3 separate regions of the Homo sapiens genome follow, and all the other regions are linked to region 3. Evidence: promoter capture Hi-C in human tissues and cell types (Jung and others, 2019). All regions are on one chromosome and are shown on one strand. Each heading gives the region's core, a stretch centred on a gene start or on the middle of the fragment in contact. The rest is flanking DNA. Distances are from core to core; before and after follow the strand shown.

The links. The method cuts DNA at HindIII sites, captures the fragments that hold promoters and counts their contacts. A contact is called where the count stands out against the background at its distance.
Region 1: a contact is called between a fragment that was not itself captured here and the fragment with the promoter of ARL8A in region 3, in 1 of the 25 tissues and cell types used here (lymphoblastoid cells).
Region 2: a contact is called between a fragment that was not itself captured here and the fragment with the promoter of ARL8A in region 3, in 1 of the 25 tissues and cell types used here (spleen).

What each region holds. Positions count from the first base shown.
Region 1 is chr1:202,705,491-202,709,198 of GRCh38, reverse strand. All of the region lies in intron 1 of SYT2 (synaptotagmin 2), which reads left to right. Among named protein-coding and RNA genes, the nearest start is that of SYT2, 3.1 kb to the left of the region's middle. The HindIII fragment of the contact is 4,055 bases long and covers 231-3,708 here.
Region 2 is chr1:202,726,988-202,730,880 of GRCh38, reverse strand. It overlaps KDM5B (lysine demethylase 5B), which reads left to right. Exons shown (of 27, transcript NM_006618.5): 26 at 854-1,174; 27 at 1,708-3,893. The coding sequence ends at 1,845. Among named protein-coding and RNA genes, the nearest start is that of SYT2, 18 kb to the right of the region's middle. The HindIII fragment of the contact is 3,837 bases long and covers 725-3,893 here.
Region 3 is chr1:202,142,365-202,146,088 of GRCh38, reverse strand. It overlaps ARL8A (ARF like GTPase 8A), which reads left to right and starts at 1,352. Exons shown (of 7, transcript NM_138795.4): 1 at 1,352-1,639. The coding sequence starts at 1,517. RefSeq lists silencers at 1,152-1,861, 2,362-2,411. The HindIII fragment of the contact is 36,256 bases long and covers 1-3,724 here.

The sequences.
Region 1 (3,708 bases), core at 1,009-3,508, 560 kb before region 3:
GGAGGGGCCACTGCAGTGGGGAGGGAAGGGCAGAGGCCCCGTGGGCAGGTAGTACAGGTTGAGTTAGCTTATAAGGAGGAGGAAGTCCTTAGGATCTGGGGGCGCCCAGGAAGCCAGAAAGGTGAACTGGGGTCTGACCTGGAAAGCAAAAGGGTGCCCTTCTCCCTCCCCTACTGCTGCCGCCCTGCGGGGCCTCTCCCAGGTGGAATAGATTGTCCTCCATCCAATCTGTCTGGATCCCCATAACCTGGCACTTCATTAGAGGGGGTGACAGAAGCAGGGAAGCCCTTAATCCTTTCAACCATCTCTCCCTACTTAAGACTAAGTCCAGCTTTGGGGCTGCTAGAAACATCTCTGTGACCAGCAGAGGTGCTGAAAAAAGCCATGCCCAGTGCCCCAAAGGCGGGCCCGAGTGGCAGGTGGAAGGGGGCAGGGTGGCTCTGATGCAGTGGGACGTGCCTGGCATCCTGGTCCTGTGGAATGAGAGTGGTGGTCTGGCAGGCACTGCAAGCTGCAGCGTGTGTCAGGGCCCTGGGGGTGAGTCAGCGTCAGGGGTCCACGCCAGGCACACTGCAGCCTAGGGAGTCCAACTCCAACCCATCTCCTCCCATGCCCCTGGAAAATGGCCAGTGCCCACTGAACCCCGACTGAACCACCTTTCCCTCAGGGTGGCTGCCTCTGCTCTGCTTGGCTGCCAGGCAGATCCCTGGCTTCACCCTCTAGGACTCCCCCCAGAGGCTTGGCTTTTTCTGGAGATCTTTTGGGCTTAATCCTTACCTTCTCCCCTCCTTGTCTTGCCAAAGGAGGAGGAGAGGGAGGCAGAGGAAAGTTTCTAGGTTATAGCCTCACATAGACCTGGCCCACCATTCCCTGGAGGAAGAGAGACCAGACCACTCTGCTGGGAGTCTGCTTTGTTCTGCAGTCCAGGAGCTTGGTCCAGGGAACTTGGGTTTTCTTTTGGGGGAAGGGGGTGATTATGCAGGAACATTTCTTTTTCAGCTTTGGGGTCTGACATCCGCAGAACAGGACCAGGGGAAGCAAAAAGTGTTGGTGTTCGTAAACATTGACTTTTCACCTAGAGAAGCTTGCAACTGGCTTCAATTTAGGACTGAAGCTGGTTTCACCTGGGCAAAGCATGTACCTTGCTGAAGACCTCGCAGGGCCGAGGAGACCCTTTCTGGAGCTGGGTCTGGGCTCACCTGCCCTCACATTGCAGCTGGAGCTCGTTTTATTCCTTCTACCCTTAGGCAGCTTCCAGGCAGGTGTGACAGGGCTGTCTATGATACTGCAGAGACCTGGGGGTGGGCTTTGGAGGTGGCTGGAGAAGCCTCTTCCTTGCCCTTCTCAAGCCCTGGGGACCAGGCTACCCCAGTGTTCCCCAGCCCCTAGGCAAGCCTGACCTCTAGTCATTCTTTCTGCCTCCATCTGAACATTATCATATCTCAATGGGGTCTCCTTTTTCTTCCCCGCCAGGCCTGTGCCGCCCTCTCAGGGGAGAGTAGATAGAGGGGCAGTGAGTGCACTGGAAGCAGGGGGACAGAAGGCAGTGAGGACAGAGTGGGAGGAGGTTGGGCTTCATTTGCCTGGAAGAATGACCATCATTCCCTTCCCTGGACAGAAGCATCCTCGTGGAGGACTTAAGGCTGCAGATGAGTAGAAACACTACTTCACTTGGCTTTGGGATTTGCTCTGTGGACTTCCCCAGTCTAGGCAGGTCCTAGCTGAAGCCAGAGTATCCCCACCACTGAAGGTCCAGGGTGGTGGGGATACTCTTTAAGAACTGGAACAGCAAGTCAGAGGGAGTAATGGGGGGGCAGGGTCACTCAGTGCAGTGGTTAAATATGAAGCACCAAAGAATGGAGGCTAGGAGATAGACAGGCCTGGGTTCAAATCCCAGGGCTGCTAAGTACAAAGTCTGACATTTGCAACAAGTATTTTATTAGTGAGTACCTACCATGTGCCACTATTGTAGTCTCTCTGGGTGGGGAGGTGAGCACAGCCGCAGGCCCTACACATGTTACTGAGCCACTCAGCATCCCTTCTGCATTCGTTCCACTATTGCATTTTGAGAATCTGTGCTAGGCAATGGAGATTCAGGTGGGAACAAAACAGACCTGTTTCCTGCCCTCGTGGCATTTACAATCTAGTGAATACCACACAATTAGATAATTACATAAAGAATTCATCATGACTGTGCCAAGAGTTATGAAGGTATGTAGGAAGCTTCGAGAGCATGTAACAGGATGATCTGACAATGTCTGCACAGTTTTCTCTAAAGAACAGAGGTAATAATGCTTAACTCTCAGGGTAGTATTGTAGAACTGATAACTATTCGTGTTATTTTAGAAGTAGCCCCTGGACCACCAGACAGATGCAGTTCTAAATTCCCTACGTGAATAATCCATCCATAGGCAACAAGTTGATTCTTCATCTTCCACTCAGTCAGAGAAGCCAGGCCAGAGAAGCTGGGATTCAGTTATGGCTTCTCCTGGACTCCAGAAGCCTGTGATAAATAATATAGTTTCATTGGAGAAACATCAAGTCAGAGATTTTTTTCTAAGTGGCAGTATAGTGACTACAGCCAGATTGCCAGGGTTCATCCTGGTTCTGCCACTTGCTGTGATTTTGGGCGAGTCAATCACACTCTGTTTTTTAGTCTTGCCATCTGTAGAATGGAGCTAAAATTTGTAACTATGACGTAGATTGTTCTTGGTGAGGATGAAATGGGTTAATTCCTGTAAAGCGTGTAGAACAGTGCCTGGCGCGGGAGGAGTAAGTGCTTTTCATCCTTGGGTGGCCTGCGTGCTCCTTTTCCTGCCCACACACACAACACTGTCTTGGGTTCTCCAGCTGCAGGGAGCACTGTCCACCTTTGATATTCTTAAAACTCAAGGGAAGGAGTTGCCCTCACCGTCTTGGTGGTCAGTCCTGCATTTCATCCCCCTCACTCGAAGACGGTTTTTATGCCTAATGAGTCTTTTCTTGCCAAAGCTTGATTTCTGGGAAGGATTTGTCCCAGCAATCCTTCATTTTCATCTCTGGAACTGACAGTTCAAGGAAGTAGCCAGAGTGATGGGTAAATTTGGATCCAGGCCCAGAGGGACCTGAGAGTCACTGTGAGCCTGGAGGGCAGGGGAACACCTAGCTGCCAGCCCCCTCCCCTAGAGAGGCTGGGTCTAAAATTAAACATCCAGAAGGACTCCCCAGGCCAGGTGCAGTGGCTCACACCTGTAATCCCAGCGCTTTGGGAGGCTGAGGTAGAAGGATCGCTTGAGCCCAGGAATTCCAGAGCAGGCTGGGCAACATATGGAGACCCTGTCTCTACAAAAAATTTAAAAATTAGCTGGGCATGGTGGCACACCAGGTTAAGCAGGAGGATCGCCTGAGCCCAGGAGGTCGAGACTGCAGTGAGCTATGGTCATGCCACTTCACTTCAGCCTGGAAAACAGTGAGATCCGGTCTCAAAAAAAAAAAAAGGACTCCCAAAATCCAAGATGAGCAGTAGATATTGTAGAAGCTTCCTCCCTGGATCATTTTCTGATGAGGATAAAGTCCCTGCTGGCTGAGTGCCAGGGAGGAGGTTAGATTCTGAAAGCCCCTCACACTTAGGGAAGTAGGATGTGAGTAGCAGGGTCCATTAAAATGGCCAAGCAGCCTCCAAATCTGAAAGAAAGGGGGGTTACCTGCTGCTGTAAAGTCAGGAGAGGC
Region 2 (3,893 bases), core at 1,394-3,893, 580 kb before region 3:
GGCACAGTCTGGGGTGGGGGTATGCTTTATTTTACTCCTCGAAACATAACCAGACAGCTGGTGTGAGGACTGGGCGATTAGACTGAGGATGACCCATTTTGAATGCTGACTTAGTTGAAGGATACTCCTTAATGTCCTGTTTCTTAACATAGTTAAGGATACTGCGGCTGCTGCCACTTCCTTCTAGTGAACTAACTGACCCATCACATTTAAGGCCCCTGAGAATATAGTTAGGATAGAAATCTACTAGGAAGCCTGAAGCCAAATTAGGGAAGAACTTCACTAAAGATAGCATGAGGGCTGATGTTGGCATTTAGAATTTCATTTTTCATGGCAAATTTCATTTGCCATACCAAGTAGTATGGCACAATCATTGAATGTGTTCAGTTAATGCGCCTTACACCTATAAGGTGTGGGGGTGTACATCCTTCAAGAAGGAAGATTATTAGTGTGGTTCCTCAGGAGCCTGTAGGTCACAGGATAGACATAAACACCTAGACAGAAACTATTATAGTAGTTAGTCATTCAGGGATTTGGTGAAAGGAAGACTCTTAGTGGGCACCTCTCCATCTTCTGGTATTGGTTGGTTAATTGGAAGGGTAATCACGTCTTTAACATTCCTTTTTCCAGTGATCCTTTGGTAGCATTAACAGTGATAGGGGAAGGAAGTATGTTAAACCCAAACTGGTTGTCTTATACAAGACTGGGAGGGGAGTGGTTAAGATGCAGTATTTTTTTCCCGTGTAGATTGGGGGATCATCTGATTTCTAATTTACATGTTCTCTTTAGCTTCATTAGTTTTAGTAATAGGTGACCCATAGGCGAAAATTGAACTTTCCTATCTTCCACCCAGAATGACTGTTGCCGAGGGAAGCGAGATGGAATTAACAGTCTTGAGAGAAAACTGAAGAGACGCCTGGAAAGAGAGGGCCTCTCCAGTGAGCGGTGGGAACGAGTTAAGAAAATGCGGACCCCCAAAAAGAAGAAAATCAAACTGAGCCACCCCAAGGACATGAACAATTTCAAGTTAGAGAGAGAGCGTAGCTATGAATTAGTTCGTTCTGCTGAAACTCATTCCCTGCCCTCAGACACATCCTATTCCGAACAGGAAGACTCTGAGGATGAAGATGCCATCTGCCCAGCTGTGAGCTGCCTGCAGCCAGAAGGAGATGAGGTCAGTGAGGTTTGGGCCATAGAGGACGTGCTTTCCCTTAACTCAGAAACCCTGTAAGCTAGACCTCATCTCGCTGGGTCTTTCTCCTCTGCTTATCTGCTTTGAGCTGATCTGAATGGATTGCTCAGCCCTTCCCCCACTGATATCTGTGCTCTTACCATCGTTCCTGGGTCTCCTCCCTTTTCTTGAAGAAACTCTTGTTCTTCCCTTTTTCCTTTTCTTGCTCTTCCAGCTTTCACCTTCCCGGCGCTAAGAAGGTGGGAGGGATGCTGATGTGATGCCCTTTGGCTTACTTATCACAGGGCAGCGCTGTCTTAACCCCAAAGCAGACACGACTTGAAGAATGACTTTGACTCGGTTGCTTTGGCTAGGGGGCCAGCTACACTCATTTGGCTTAGCTGTTGTGCCAGAGGTCCCAGTGGTGGGACAGTGGCTGTTATTGGCAAACGGCCTGAATTTCTTGAGGCTGGCCTGCCCAATTTTGAATCCATTTTTTCCTCTGAAAACCCCATCTTCCTGCTCTTTGTAACCAGGTGGACTGGGTCCAGTGTGATGGCAGCTGCAATCAGTGGTTTCATCAGGTCTGTGTTGGTGTCTCCCCAGAGATGGCAGAGAAAGAAGACTACATCTGTGTGCGCTGTACTGTGAAGGACGCACCAAGCCGAAAGTAAAAACACAAAAACAGATACCCCCCTACTTAATGTAATTCAGGACTCCAACCAAGAGGATTTCTTCAAATCTCAGCAAAGCTACAGGACTGGTACTCAAGCCAGCCTGTAAACGGTGCTATTTCTATTCCTTATGGGATCATTTTTCCAGGACTCTTTGAAGAAAAGAAAAAACAACTAAAAAAATTTTTGACACTTTTTGTATTTTTTCCTTAAGAGCTATTTGTGGTTGTTGAGGTTTGAAAAGCTGACTGTTTTTTTTGCAGGGGTTCCCACCAATTTGGAAGGCATTGAAGCTTGCACCTTTTCATGTACAGCATTAAAATTTTACCTCTCTCTGGGATTTACCAGCTTAAGAGTCCAACTCACTTCCAGTGCCCAAAAGGGCACCCACCAGAAATTCCAGTAAATCCTCATTTGAGGAAGCTCTCCCTTGTTTACTCTGTTACCACATTGGGGAAATTTTTAAGTTTTTCACTTTGGGAGTTTTTGTTTGTTTCTTCTTTTCCTTTATCCACTTTTCTTCTTCCTGGTAGACTAGGTTTATTTATCTGAGCAATAACTTCTATGTTGGTTTCAGTGGCTGGAATTAAAACAAAACAAAACAAACTTCCAAACAGTGTGTTGGTGCTTTAGCGATTGATTGATGTACAGAACACAAATGTCTAGTTTCTAGTGTCACTGATGAACTAGTGATGTAGAAAAGAGACTTCTCTGTAAGTAATTGCCACAGCTGTATTTTGGCTTTCTCCCTGTCCCTTCCTTTCTCCCCTATTTTTTGGTAGCTTGTATCAAATGTTACAGTTTATATTGTGGAATAAATCCTTCGTCCTAACATAACACTAAATGCTGATTATTTAGAGCCATTAGAGCACAGCTTCTTCTGCCCCTCTACTGTTGCACAGCCAGAAGGGGCTGCTTGCTTTTGCCTCTGCCCAACCAGGTTGCAGTAGCAGTGGATGTTAGCCTGCAAACAACATTAGGGGATTCTTCTTTTGTGTCCTGCTCTGTTTGGTGGGCCATATGCCTACAGCCCTCACTAACAAAGAACCCCTCTGTCTTCAAGGACTAGAACCTATCTTTAAAGCCGTGCTCTTTTAAAATAAGCTTTCTCAGAATGTTGGCAAATCACTTCAATCCTCAAATCAGTCTTCCTTGTGGAATGCTGCCTTTATTATATTTGAATTGACAGGGGAACTTGGTTTAGGGTTAAGACGTTGGAAGGAAATCTAAGGAAAATTAATCCTCACAGAGGTCCGGGTTTAGTATATGTCTTGAGAGGAGACTTGTGAATTCCCAGACTCTGCCTCCTGGTTTCCTTTCTCATTTCTTTCTAACTGTAGCTATCATTACTGGCTGTGGATAGCCCATAGCTATTTTCCTTGCTTTTCTTTTTTAAAGGGGTCTGTTCTGCAGTGGAGAAGACATTCTGGTGACCAGACTTTTGCTTACCTTTTCCTATTCTGTTGCCAATTTTTGTTTTCCCCACATTCTATAGCCATAAACCTGAAGATGAGTAAAACTGGTGGGTCTTTAATAAAACAACAACAAAAACAGCAGTTTGTGATATAGCAGAGGTTTAAATGTACCCTCCCCTTTTATGCACTTCAAATAATTAAATCTCTTTAAGAATGACTTCTAGTTGTCTGCAGTTTTCTGCAGTTGTTGTGATGTTTCTCTTCGTCTGATGGTGGTTCTGGGGCCAATAGAGAAGAATAGTCTCCAGAGTACAATTTGGAATCATCGTGGTTTGGCCTTGTTAGTATTCAAATTCTTAGAATCCCCTCCATCACCCCCGACTTTGAGATAGGATGCCAACTGTCCCAGTCCTCACCTTCCATTGAGAAATTAAGCTTAAAAGGAGACCCTGCTGCTAATATAAAGCCACTGCCTTTAGAGAGCTTTTGCCATCTTAGTAAGCACAACCCCTACCCCCATCCCCACTAGTTTTTCTTCTTCACCTGTGGGTGGTGGTACACAGTCCCTGACAATAGCATCTTTGAGGAAGTCAGATCTTTGTATCTCTGAGTGAGTTAGAAAAGGTAGGCATG
Region 3 (3,724 bases), core at 103-2,602:
GGCTGAGGCAGGCAGATGGCTTGAGCTCAGGGCTTCGAGACCAGCCTGGACAACATGGCAAAACCCCGTCTCTACCAAATATACAAAAATTAGGCTGGCATGGTGGCGCATGCCTGTAGTCCCAGCTACTCGGGAGGCTGAGGTAGAAGAATCACCTGAGCCCGAGGAGGTGGAGGCTGCAGTGAGTCGAGATCCCACCGCTGCACTCCAGCCTGGGCCACACAGTGAGACCCCATCAAAAAAAAAAAAAAAAACAATATTATGCTAGCCGAAACCTTGTGATTCTTCTACTTTGGTAACTGTTTGACTATTTGGGGTCATCTAACTCCAGTTGATTGGACAGATATGGTTGATATTGATAGTTTACCCACTTTTGACTAAAACAATAGACTACATATGACTACATTTGAAAACCAAACCCCAACGGGCAGCCAGCATAGGCTGGGGACTGCCCGAAGCCTGAGCCTACCCGGGACTGCCAGCTGAGGTTGTCAGCCTGCCTGAGCAGGTCCTATGGGTGGGTCTTGCAAGGAGAGGGGCAGGAGTAAGGCATCTTTGCAGGCACTCCAGACCCACTTCAAGAGGAGAACTATCACTTCTCCTCCTGAAGAATACTCTGCTTTTCACCAAAACAGGGCAACATTTTCCTTTGTCACAGACGTTCCTCACTGAAAACCCCCTGCCAGGACTGTATCTGTTTGGGTATCTTGGGGATGCTGGTAAAAATCCGGAGCAAGTTCAAGCGTCCGTTTCACTTGGGGCCAGAGGCTTCCTAACAAGTGGTCGGGGTAAATTGTGGTGAACAAAACAAGATGGAGTATTAAAAGACCCGAATACGGTTGTCCCTCTGCACTGGGTGCATTTTGAGAGGATGGGACTGTACCCAGGAATGCTCAGAGGCAAGGGTTCAGGGACAAAAAAGCCTCCATCTGCCTCCCTGTCGTAGAGATCTCATCTCCGTGTCCTGGGAAGTGGGTGACCCACTCTCCTTCAACCTGAAAAGGCTCCTGCTTAACCGGAACCTCACCCACCTCGAGCCCACCACCCTTTAAGAAAGGGGGTGCCAGTCAGGGCGCGGCAGTCGGGGACAGGGTCTAAAATAAATTAGACCCCATTTCCCAAGCGCCTCTCGACGCCAGCTGCCGGTCAACCCCCGCCGCTGAAGCCTGCGGATTCCCTGCTCACCCCACCTGCGGATTCCCTGCTCACCCCACCTGCGGGTGCGGCCCCTGGCCCCCCGGCTCCAGCGAGGGAGGAGCGCGCGCTCGGGTGCGAGCAGGACACGGCCCGGCCGCGAGGGAGGGCGGCGGCGGCGGCGGAGGAGGAGGGCGCGGAAGCCACACCCATCGGCGAGCCGATTCCGGGGCAGCGAGTCGTCGGCAGCCGCGCTCGAGCCTCCGCCCGCACCGAGCCGCGGGACCCGGGCCGTACCGGGGAGGGGCCGCTCCGGGCCGCAGCGCGAGGGCAGCGAGGGGCGGCGGGGACCTGGCACCGGGCGGGGCCGGCGGCAGCGACCATGATCGCTTTGTTCAACAAGCTGCTGGACTGGTTCAAGGCCCTATTCTGGAAGGAGGAGATGGAGCTCACGCTGGTCGGGCTTCAGTACTCGGGCAAGACCACCTTCGTCAACGTGATCGCGGTACGAGGGCGTCGGGCGCGGGGTCCCCGGGCGCGGGCCGCGGGTCGGGCCTGTCCCCGCCCGCGCCGCGCCCTGCTGAGCCGGGGTCGCCGCCTGGCATAGCCGGGCACGGCCGGGCGCCGGGCGGGGGAGGAGCCGGCCCCGAGCGCTTGGGGCCTAGTACGGCCCGTGCCGTGGGGGACCGGGGCGGCGCGCGACCCGCTCTCTCACCCGGGCCGGTACTGCACGGCTGGGGGCAGGGGAAGGGGGACGAACAGACAGGGCCGGTGCCACGGGGCAGGCGGCACCGAGGGGCTCTCGAAGCAGGAGGGACCCGCTGCCGGCTGAGACGGGCCCCCTCTGGCCCCCGCGCAAGGGGGCATGACGGGGCGAAAGTGCACGGGCCTTCCTGTCCCGCGGGTAGAGGGTCACGGGACGGGGCGGCCGAGAGGCTTGAGGAGGGGGTTTGGGCAAGCCCAGCCCCACCCAGAGGGCTTAACCCCTCCTTGCCGGAAGAGGAAGCCCCGGCCCTATTGAGGGGGAGGGGAGGTATCCCCCGGGGTAGAGGAGTCAGCTGAGGCCCTTGGCTCAAGCCCAGACTCCTCCCCAACTTCTCCCCGACCCGCAGTGTCTAGCCGGGGGTCCAGGGAGGATCGCATGGTAACGGGAGTTTGGAGACTCCGTCTGGCTCAGAAGTTTGCAGGAGCAGGTGCTCCCGACAAGAGAGGATGAGGTGTAGGGGCACGGCCCACTGGGGCCTTGGGAGAGTGGCTCTAAGGGCTTTGGGTCGTCAACACTGAAGTGGGTGATTGTAAGTCTTTCAGCGCCAGGGGAGTGGTGGGGAAGGAGTTAAAATCTCTCTCAAAAAAGGGGAAGATGAGCTCCATGGGTGTGAGCTGAGGCTGCCGTAATGGCTGCGGCCTGCCTGTCAGAGCCAGGCTAGACAGGGCTTGTGGGTCGAGGAAGCATGGGACAGGGGCTGGGGTTGTCCAGGGACCTGGCCCCAGTCCCAAAGCTGAGGTTTCCCACAACTGTGAGTTGGCCAGATAGTAACCAAAGATACTGATGAGATAGGTCAGCAGAGGAATGTATCCAGCCGGCCTAGGTACCTCTACCTGTCCGTGTTGTTGCCCCACCTTGCAGAAGATGGGCCTCCTCGACAGTTCTCAGCGTCCTAGAAGGCAGGGGACGTCACTTCATTGGACCTGAGGCATGAAGGCAGATGGAAAGCTCGAGGGGCGGGCATCCTGTGGTTACACAATTGAACACTGGCTTCCTTTCCCAAACATGCTCTGCAAATGACCTCTGCCCTTTCTCGACCCAGTGTCTCCTGTCTCCTGACCTGACAGGGCAGGATCTTCAGGCCAATGCTGCGGTTTTGGCACAGTAATTTTCGGAGCTAACACCCCTGGGCTCTGTCTGCCTAGGCTCTGCCCTTGGGGTCAGAGACCCTCTGGTTAAACTTGGCATTGACTTAGGCTCTTGGATTCCCAGAGCAGGCACATAACACCTGGACTCTGACCTGACTCTGCAGGCCTAGGTGGCTTGGGTTCTAGGCGTTTAGGTCTGAGAAATGCAGCTGGGCCTAGGTATCTCCTCGTTCCCCAGGGTGTTACTATAGCTGTGCTCTGGGACAGGGATCCACAGGTACCCGGGTGGGTTCGGTTTCTGGGTCTGCAGTTGAGCCTTTGACAGGAGGGCCCCCTCTAGACCAGCATCATATCCAGAGAGTTGGAGACTATAGCAGGCCAGAAACAGAACCCAAGAGTCCCAAATTCCCCTGCCAGGGTCAAGAGTTCCTGTGATATACAGGAAAAGCACCCCATCTCCAGCCCACAAGGTCCCCTTTTTAATCTTAAATTTGCCACTTCCGCTGGCACATTCTAAAAGAGCAGGCAAGCTAAATTCCCTTCTTTAGAGAGGCTTCCCAAGGAAAACCACCCCATGTGGGCTGCAGTTGGAATTCCAGTGTCCCGGTCACTCCAGTGTTTTCAGATCCTCTGGGGCTACCACACTGGCATTGCTGCCCACCCCGTGTATAATCACAGTTGAGTGTCTTCCAGAAAGAAACGAAGAGTTGGGACCCCTGGGCTCTGTTCCCATGCC